3 separate regions of the Homo sapiens genome follow, and regions 2 and 3 are each linked to region 1. The links are contacts of gene promoters, found by promoter capture Hi-C in blood cells and fetal thymus (Javierre and others, 2016). All regions are on one chromosome and are shown on one strand. The core of a region is centred on a gene start or on the middle of the fragment in contact, and the rest is flanking DNA. Distances in the headings are between cores, read along the strand shown. Region 1 holds the start of SUN5 (Sad1 and UNC84 domain containing 5). Region 2 overlaps BPIFB3 (BPI fold containing family B member 3). Region 3 overlaps EFCAB8 (EF-hand calcium binding domain 8).

Region 1 (3,010 bases), core at 160-2,659:
GGTTTCCCAACACCACCAGCCTGTGATTCAGGGACAGACCCAGGTCTGGCTGACCCCAAATCCAGGTATCCATCAAGGAAAAGACCCAGGTTGCTGTGGCAGTCACAGGCGGTTGTCGCCATGTCCCCGAGGTTGGCAGAAGCTTGGTTTTGTTCCTTTGTCTGCTCCTACCCAATGTGATTTTAGGCCATTTTGATTGGTCGAAGCCTGCTGTCGTGCTCCCATTCCCTGTGCTGTGATTGGTTCAAGGGTGAGGAAGTCTGCAGGGGTGAGGTAGGGTGAGGTAGGGGGGTGGTTACGAGGTAAGGGACTTGGGGGAAAAGTTAGGTTTAGGATTAGCTAAATGAGACCCACAGAAAACGATGCTTATTCTCCTTCCCCTAGACGCCACATTTCTGCGTGACACCTGAAACTGTGGTGGCCATCTTGTGACCATGAGAGGGGGCTAAAAGAGCAGAATGATGACAGGAACCTGGGTCTTGGGTGGCAGAACTGAGGAATTAACACACTCCGGAGCCCCCTGCACCTTGGGACCTCTTGATATGTGAGATTTAAAATTTTCCCTTATTTCTTAAGTCAAAGGTCTTTAAACATTTTTGTTTATACCACCTCAGAGTATTTATATTGGTTTATTAATAAATTATATATACACCCAATTGTACTAATACATTGTTTACCCTTCCCAAATGTACAGATTTATGGTAACATTCCTGAATAATATAAATTAAAAGAGGATGAAAGACATACATTCTAGCCTGGTTATTTCTTTTCTCACCCTTGGGGATTGTTTGGTATACTCTCTTGGGATATACACCCAGATTTGGGTGCCCAGAGATAGGCATCATTTTAAGTTGGAATTTCTGTCACCTGCATTCAGAGGCTTTCTGACAGATAAAGATGGCGAAATACTTGTTTCCTTCTTTCATACCAGTCTCCTGCACTAGACCGTGAGCTCCATGAGGGAACGGAGCACATCAGACTGGTGCCACACCGTGTTCCCCGTCCTCTGTGCATTTCCCGGCACACAGTAGATGCTCAATAAATGCGTGCTGGAAGGATGGCTGCTTCACCACTTCCTGGCTGGGAGACTTTGGGAATACCACTGCCAAACCTCTCTGGTCTTGGTGGCTGTCTCTGTACAGTACAGTTGACAATGCCACTCATCTCCAAGGACAGGGTGGAGGGGCAGCATTTTGTAAACTGTAAAGGGCTGGGCAAAGGGAGGGGCTGCCATCCTCACCTCCGGGGTCTGGGATTGTGGGCCACATCTTCGAGTAGGGCGCCTGGGTCCCCAGGGCTCCTTGAGGACCGTGGCATCGATTTCCTTCTTTAGGATTGGGGATGGAGATGGGAACTCTGGGAGCTGGTGAGGAGGAAGGGGCTGATGCCTCTGAATGTCCCCTGAAAAGTGCCAAGTGGAATCTGCCAGGATCAGTGGAGCAGTTGGCATTGTGACCTCACAGAGCAGGTGGGTGGAGGGGCAGGGGATGGGGCTAGTCTCCAGCTTGGCCCTAGAACCTCCCCCAGAGGAAGCCATTGTGACCCACTTTCCTTTCTTAAGATGGGGAAATTGAGGCATCAAGACAGGAAGGGCCATGCTGGGGTCTCAGAAGCTGGACAGGGGCGAGAGCTGAAGCTCCAGTAACCCAACCATGCTTTTCCTTGTTTCCTAGATCCCTTCCTGCCCCAAGCTTCCCAGGCTTTTCACCTTCTTAGGTTGCACCTGAATGCATTTTGTAATGCTGAGCTTCTCACTGGTGGACATTGTGCATAACACAAAATAACATTGCATGTGTTGTTGCTTTAATAAAGTTCTACTTTTTGTTGGGCCCGGTGGTTGATGCCTGTAATCCTAGTACTTTGAGAGGCAGAAGCGGGTGGATTGCCTGAGCTCAGGAGTTTGAGACCTGTCTGGGCAACATGGCAAAACCCCTTCTCTACTAAAAATACAAAAAATTGGCTGGGTGTGGTGGTGTGTGCCTGTAATCCCAGCTACTCGGGAGGCCGAGGCTTGAGAATTGCTTGACTCGGGAGGCGGCAGAGGTTGCCGTGAGCAGAAATCGCGCCATTGCACCCAGCCTGGGCAACAGAGTGAGACTCTATGTCCAAAAATAAAGTTCTACTTTTTTACTGGGGAAAATAAAAGCATAACCGAGTGGAAATGTCGGGCTAAGTTTTTTCTGTTCACCCTGCCTGTAGGGAGCTTGACTATTTGGATAGCAAAGCTAAAATGAATTCACTTTTGCCCCCTGGTGGCAGTTGCTTAAAATTGCAGGCTAATTACCAATGGGAAGTGGTACGATGGTCCCTCAAAGAGGCCCACACACTAAAACCTGAACATGTAAATATGTTAAGTCACAAGGCAAAAGGGAGTTAAAACTAGAAGAGCAATTTAAGTTGCTAATCAGTCGATCTTGAGATGGGAAGAATACCCTAGATTACCCATGTGGGTGCAATGTAATGACAAGGGTCCTTAAAAATGGAAGAGGGAGGCAGGGAGATGGCAGCACAAGAAGCACTCAGCCCAACATGCTGGCTTTGAAGATGGAGGAAGGGACCAGGAGCCAAGGAATAAGGGCAGCTTCTAGAAGCTGGAAAAGGCAGGTGGACAATTCCTCTCCTACAGCCTCCAGCAAGGAACACAGCCCTGCCAATACTTCCTTGATTTTAGCCCAGGGAGACCCATCTGGGACTTCAGACCTCCAGAATGGTAACATGATAAATTGTGTCTTAAGTCACTAAGTTTGTGATAATACATTATTGCAGCAACAGGACACCAATGCAAAACCCCTGAGAATATTCAGTGAAGGGGAAACTCTGAAATGCCACCACTACAATTGTTACAAGGGTCTTTCAAATGTATACTCATTCATTTATTCATTCAACAAATATTTATGCACCTAGTATGGTCCAGGTGCTGGAAACAGGGCTGAGCAGAACCAGCTCCCATCCCTGCGGATGCAGGCAAAGTGGCTGGCAGAACATTCTGCATATAGCAGGTGCTCACCAA
Region 2 (3,010 bases), core at 314-2,813, 64 kb after region 1:
GTGTCACCACTTACCAATTGTGTGACCCTTGGCAACAGCCTCAGTGTCTCCATCTGTTAAATGAGGGCAATGGTAGCACCCACCTCTTTGAGCTGTTGTAAAGGTGAAATGAGCAAAGGCGTGCAGAGCCCCTAGCATCTGTCTGGCATGCAGTAAGTGCTCAGTAATTGCTAGCTGATAGAACAAACTTGAGTGTTTGTAGTGATATATGTATGAAATTGGCAGGGTAGGGGGAAGAGTGGTGAACGAAACTGCTCTGAGTGTGCTGAGGGATTCCTGTTCTGTCTCTGTGCTCACCAACCCTCTCTCCCATTGGGGGTCCAGGTTCCCAGCGATGTCCCACTGACAACTACAGACCTGGCAGCTTTGCTCCCTGAGGTGAGTGACGCTCTCATGGGTTTTGATCATTGTAGCTCTTTCCTGATGACCATGAATGGAGTCCAGAATCTTTCTCAATACAGCTCTCCAGGCAACTGCAATTGAACAGTTGAGTCCAAATTCACACTAAAGTGTGAATGACTAACACGACATCCTTTCCTGATAGCAGATTTTGCTTAGAGAGTAAAGGATTAGGGCTTGACTGCCCCAGAAATCAACTGGGCATTTATCCTATGGAAATTGTTTCTGTAGCACACAAGGACAAAAGTCTTTTCAGGTTACTGAGCTCCCTTCTACCAACTGGCTTACTTCATCCTGACCTTAGTCTTCAATGTCCCCAGAGAAAAGACTAGGGCACTTGTCTTGGAGAGGAAAGAAAAGGGAGAGTGTCAGGTAGGTCTCACTAGTGGACATAAGTACATGACTTCCAGGCCAGGCCTCAGCTTTCCCATCCTTCAACTGGGGCTGGACCAGCTGCTTTCCAGCTGTGAGAACTGGAATTCGTACTGAAGTTAAAATGTCTACTACAAGGTCCTTATGTAACAGCAGGTTCTGAAAGAGGTTGGAAAGAGGCCTAGGGGCCTGGGCTCTCACCAGAGAGGATGGAAATGAAAGCTGGGTTTGGGGGCACAGAGGACAAACTCTGTGAGTTCTTGAAGTTGGTGATTCAAAGCAGTCTGGATGAATGAGGTCGGGGCCTCAGCTTTCCAGAGTCCCTTGGCTAAAGGGCATAGGAGCCTCATGGAAGGGATGCGATTGGAGTCAGACATTCAGAAGAACCTCCAGAGAGTAGGAGTGGAGAGGGACATGGGGCAAGTGGAGTTGGCTGGGGCAGGGGTATCCAGAAGCAGCAAGCTGGGCCTGCCCCTCCAGCATGGGGAAGCTGGGCTTGTCTCTGGAGGCTGAATCCTTTGGTCTCCATTTGCTGGCCTCGCAGCTTTAGAGCCCCATGTGGCTTCAGATTCTGTGGCATGTGAGGGTGGAATCAGGTGATTCCTGGTCCTGATGATCCTGCCCCTTAGGGATTCTGGGCTTGAGGAAACCTAGACTCAAATTCCAGCAGGCAAGGGACATACTTATGTGTTCCAAGCTTCTGTGGTTCTGTAATTTCCTTAGTCTCATGACGTTGCAATTATGAGACTCAGAATTTCCTGATTGTGTGCCTCATTTAGGCAGTCAGCGTATATCCACTGAGCACCTACTGTGTAACAGGCCCTGCAATGGAACAAGGGCATACCTGCAGCTGGGGCTGCACAAAGGGCAAAAGGTGAAAGGAGAGAAAAGCTTCTGCACTCAAGGGGTTGCCATTCTGCTGGAGGTGACAGACATTGCACAAATAAACAGAAACAGAGACAGTGTCAGAAGGTGGAAGAGCATGGAGTGGCGAAGCTGGCTTAGGAGTGCTGGCTGGTGCTTTTAGACATGGTGCTTTGCAAGGCCTCAGTGAGGAGGTAACATTTGAGTGAAGGAGGTGAGTGAGGGAACTTTGCAGTTCTCTGGGAAGATATTTCCAGGCAGAGGGAGCAGCAAGTGCAAAGGCCCTGGCGCCTGCTGGGAGCATCCCTGGCAGCTGGAGGAGCAGCCACGTGGCCAGTGAGTCTGGAGGGAGAACGCAGGGCAGCAGCGGGAGGAGAGCAGGTGAAGTGGAGAGGCGGGCAGGGGATGGAGGACACAGAGCCTATGGCCTCGGGGAGGATTCTGACTCTGCTTGAGACAGGAAGTCTGATTTGGCAGTCCTGCAGGTCGGTGTCTCCACACCTGAGTGTCAGCCTCATGGGGGCTGAGCCCAGGCCTGTGTCTTTCAGGCTGTAACCTCGTTGCCCAGCACGTTGCCCAGTGCCTGGTAGGTGCTTAGTGAGTGTTTGCTGACTGACTGACTGATTGTAGTCCTGGGGCATCTAAGTTATGCCCCTGCATTTCTCCAGGCCCTGGGGAAGCTGCCCCTGCACCAGCAACTCCTACTGTTCCTGCGGGTGAGGGAAGCTCCCACGGTCACACTCCACAACAAGAAGGCCTTGGTCTCCCTCCCAGCCAACATCCATGTGCTGTTCTATGTCCCTAAGGGGACCCCTGAATCCCTCTTTGAGCTGAACTCCGTGAGTGGTCAAGGGGTGGCTGGGGGCCCGGCATTGGGGTTCCAAATGGGGGTGACTGTCTCCAGGACTGTGGAGGTACCGTCCCCCTGATTTCAGGGTGGGAGCCCCACATAGTCCAGCACAGGAAGCCCCCCGCCCCACAACCACTGTCATCATCTGGGCTGAGACCCAAGCCCCTGCTTCAGTTCCTGCCTGCTCCCTCCTGTCATGTCTGCCTGGGCCTGTTTGGGCTGCCCACACTGCTTCTTGGGGATCTCAGACGTTGCTCCCCATCTCCCCAGCCTCTCTGCCCAGCTATCTCCCTGACGACCCTCCAGCTTCCTCTGACCCTCCCGCTCCAGTCAGCTTCCTCCATCGCACCTCTGCACACATCTGGACCGAGGCAGGCCCCTCCCCCTATCCTCCACCTTGGCTCCCCATGGCCAAACACCTGAGCCTGACATTCATTGTCCTTCTGCCCCATCCTTGCCTTGCCCGTCCTTGTCCCCTAAGCCTCAGCTACTCAGGTCTACCAGGTCCTCCCTCCCTGGCTTGTC
Region 3 (3,010 bases), core at 262-2,761, 58 kb before region 1:
TATAATGTGTCTCCTTGTGGATTTCTTTGACTTTATCCTAGTTGGAATCCCTTGAGCTTCTTGAATATAGGTTTCTTTTCCTTTTTAAGATTTGAAACATTTTCAGCCATTATTTATTCAGATAAGCTTTTTGTCCCTTTCTCTCTCTCTGTCTCTCTCTCCTCCTTCTAGTACTACCATAATGCATATATTGTCCATTTGACGATGTCTCATAAATCCCTTAAGTTTTCTTTACTCTTTAAAATTCTTTTTTCTTTTTTGCTTCTCTGACTGGATATCTTCAAGTCTGCTGATTTTTCCTTCTGCTTGATCAAGCCTGCTGTAGATGACTTTTGAATTCAATTATTTTACTCTTCATCTTCAGCTCTAGAATTTCTGTTATTTTTATTATTATTATTATTATTTTTTGAGACAGGGTCTTGCTCTGCCACCCAGGGTTGAGTGCAGTGGCACGAATTCAGCTCACTGAAGCCTTGACCTCCCAGCCTCAAGTGATCTTCCCACAGCCTCCTGAGTAGCTGGGACTACAGGTGCATGCCATCATGCCTGGCTAATTTTTTGTATTTTTTGTAGAGACAGAGTTTCACCATGTTGCCCAGGCTGGCCTTGAATTCTTGAGCTCAAGTGATCGCCCACCTAAGCTTCCCAAAGTGTTGGGATTATAGGTGTGGGCCACCATGGCTGGCCTCTGTTTGGTTCTTTTCTATATTTTCTGTGTCTTCACTAATATTCTCAGTTTGTTCATGTATTGTTTCCCTGAGCTTGTTGAGCATTTTTATTACGGTTACTTAGAATTCTTTGTCAAATAATTAATATACCTCAATTTCTTTAGCGGCAGTTTCTGGAGATTTATTTTGTTCCTTTGGGCCATGCTTTCCTATTTTTTTTGTGTGCCTTATAACTTTATATTGGGATCCATGCATTTGTAAAATCAGCCACCTCTCCCAGTCTTTATATACTGGCTTCATTCAGGGAAAATTCTGCACCAATCAGCTTGGCTAAAGATTCTGGGTGCCTCCCCAATCTTTTTTGTGGATACTTTCACCAGACTTACGCATGTAAATTCGCAATTACAGGAATCTACAGGTTTATTTTTTTCAGGAGTCCATTATCTCTTGCTCTCTCTGGTGTCTATTTGCAGTACTGCAAGTTCTCTAGAGCGGCTACAAGCTTCCCCCAGGCCTCTAGAATATGCTGGGTCCTTCAATAGTCTGAGAGAGGCAAGACAGAAACCAGTTTCTTGGGTACCCCTCAAAGGCTAACATTGGATATGTATGCTCCAAATCTGCCTCCTCAAGGAGAAGCTGGAAGTTGGGTTGTTTTCTCTACTCATTCCACAGAGCGGCAGGAGGGACTCTGATAGTGTGTGCTAGTCTAAATTGTCACCTTTGTTCTTAGTAGCCCAGTCTGGTGCCTCTTCCTGTCAGTGCTTAGATTCAGGCAAGACAGAAACTGGTTAATCATGCAGCCCTCTGAAAAGTCTGCATGTTGGATGTACATCTCAGTCTTTCCCTCCCAGGGAGAAGCTGGAAGCTGGTGGTTCCTTCCCAATCTGCTTCACTGAGCCAGGAGGAGGGATTACAAGTGAGCACTATGAATTTTCCTACTGGCTTCAGTGCAGCTGGTTTTTTGTTTTTTGTTTTTTTGGTTTTTGTTTGTTTGTTTTTTCATTCATCTGGGATGAATGGTCCTGGTTTCTGGTCCATGTACTGTTGTTCAGTCAGTGTCTCCATAGGGAGAAGGAAGTTCTGGATCTTCCTATTCTACCATCTTGCTGATGTCACCCATTTTTTTGTATCTTTCAAAGACGTCTTTGACTATCCCCTAAATATAATATCTAGTGTTATCTTTTAGAAGCTTGTTTTAAAAATCAGATTTCTGAAGTATAATTTACATCCAATAAAAGCACCTTTTAAAAGTATATAGTTCTGTGAGGTTTCATGAATGCATACAATTGTGTAATTGGTATCACAATCAAGACATAGACATTACCCCAAAAAGTGACCTCATGTCTCCTCATAGTAAACTCTATTTCCTTCTCCTAACCCCTGGCAGCCATTGATCTGTTTGTCTCTATAGTTTTGCCTTTTCCAGATTATCATAAATGGAAACATACACATGTAGCTGAGTGAAAGTCTAACTTTCACTTAGCATAATCAATTTGAGATTCATCTTTGTTGTTGAACGTATCAGTAGTTTGTTCTTTTTATTGCTGAGTATTATTCCACTGTATGGCTCTGTCATAGTTTGTTAATCCATTCACCAATTATAGGACATTTGAGTCATTGTCAGTTTTGGATGATTATGAATGAAGCCGCTTTAAACATTGTTTTCATTTCTGTTGGGTAAGTATTTAGAAGCAGAATGGCTGGGTTGTATGGTAAGTGTATTGAAACTTTATGAAAAATGACCAAACTGTTTTGCATTTCTACCTTTGTGTCTTCATCAACATTTGGTGTTTGATCTGTTATTATTTTAAATTTTAATAATCTATGATTGTAGCATGAGATTTCAATATTCTCTCAATTTATAAAACAACTATACAGAAAATCATTAATGATATAGAATACTTGAATAACACTATCAAACAATTTTACTTAATTAACATTTATAGATCATTCATAAACAAACATTATTTTTAAGTGCACACAGAACATTAATTAAACCGACCATATTCTGGTAACAAAACACATCTCACTAATCTCAAAAGGATTTATGCCATACAAAGTATGTTCTCTGATCCCAATGAAACTGAATTATAAATCAAAAACAGAAATATCTTTGAAATATCCCTAAATATTTGGAAGCTAAATGACACATTTCTAAATAACCCATGGGCCAAAAAAAGAAATCCAGAGGGAAATTAGAAAATATTTTGAACTGAATGAAAATGAAAATGTAACATTTCAAAATTTATGAGATGCCACAAAAAACAGTAGTAACGGGGAAATTTGTAGCACTAAATGCCTATATTAGAAGGAAAAAAGTTCAAATCTCCAGCCTCAACTTC

Evidence for each region. The method cuts DNA at HindIII sites, captures the fragments that hold promoters and counts their contacts. A CHiCAGO score of 5 or more calls a contact.
Region 2: a contact is called between a fragment that was not itself captured here and the fragment with the promoter of SUN5 in region 1, in 1 of 17 cell types (megakaryocytes). The highest score is 5.5, in megakaryocytes.
Region 3: a fragment that was not itself captured here is called in contact with the fragment with the promoter of SUN5 in region 1 in 4 of 17 cell types (activated CD4 T cells, non-activated CD4 T cells, total CD8 T cells and 1 more); the score reaches 6.4 in activated CD4 T cells.

Annotation. Positions count from the first base shown.
Region 1 is chr20:33,003,024-33,006,033 of GRCh38, forward strand. SUN5 (Sad1 and UNC84 domain containing 5) reads right to left here and starts at 1,410. Exons shown (of 13, transcript NM_080675.4): 1 at 1,241-1,410. The coding sequence starts at 1,317. The HindIII fragment of the contact is 1,549 bases long and covers 141-1,689 here.
Region 2 is chr20:33,066,500-33,069,509 of GRCh38, forward strand. It overlaps BPIFB3 (BPI fold containing family B member 3), which reads left to right. Exons shown (of 16, transcript NM_001376932.3): 10 at 325-378; 11 at 2,304-2,474. Among named protein-coding and RNA genes, the nearest start is that of BPIFB4, 12 kb to the right of the region's middle. The HindIII fragment of the contact is 194 bases long and covers 1,467-1,660 here.
Region 3 is chr20:32,944,769-32,947,778 of GRCh38, forward strand. All of the region lies in intron 23 of EFCAB8 (EF-hand calcium binding domain 8), which reads left to right. Among named protein-coding and RNA genes, the nearest start is that of SUN5, 58 kb to the right of the region's middle. The HindIII fragment of the contact is 687 bases long and covers 1,169-1,855 here.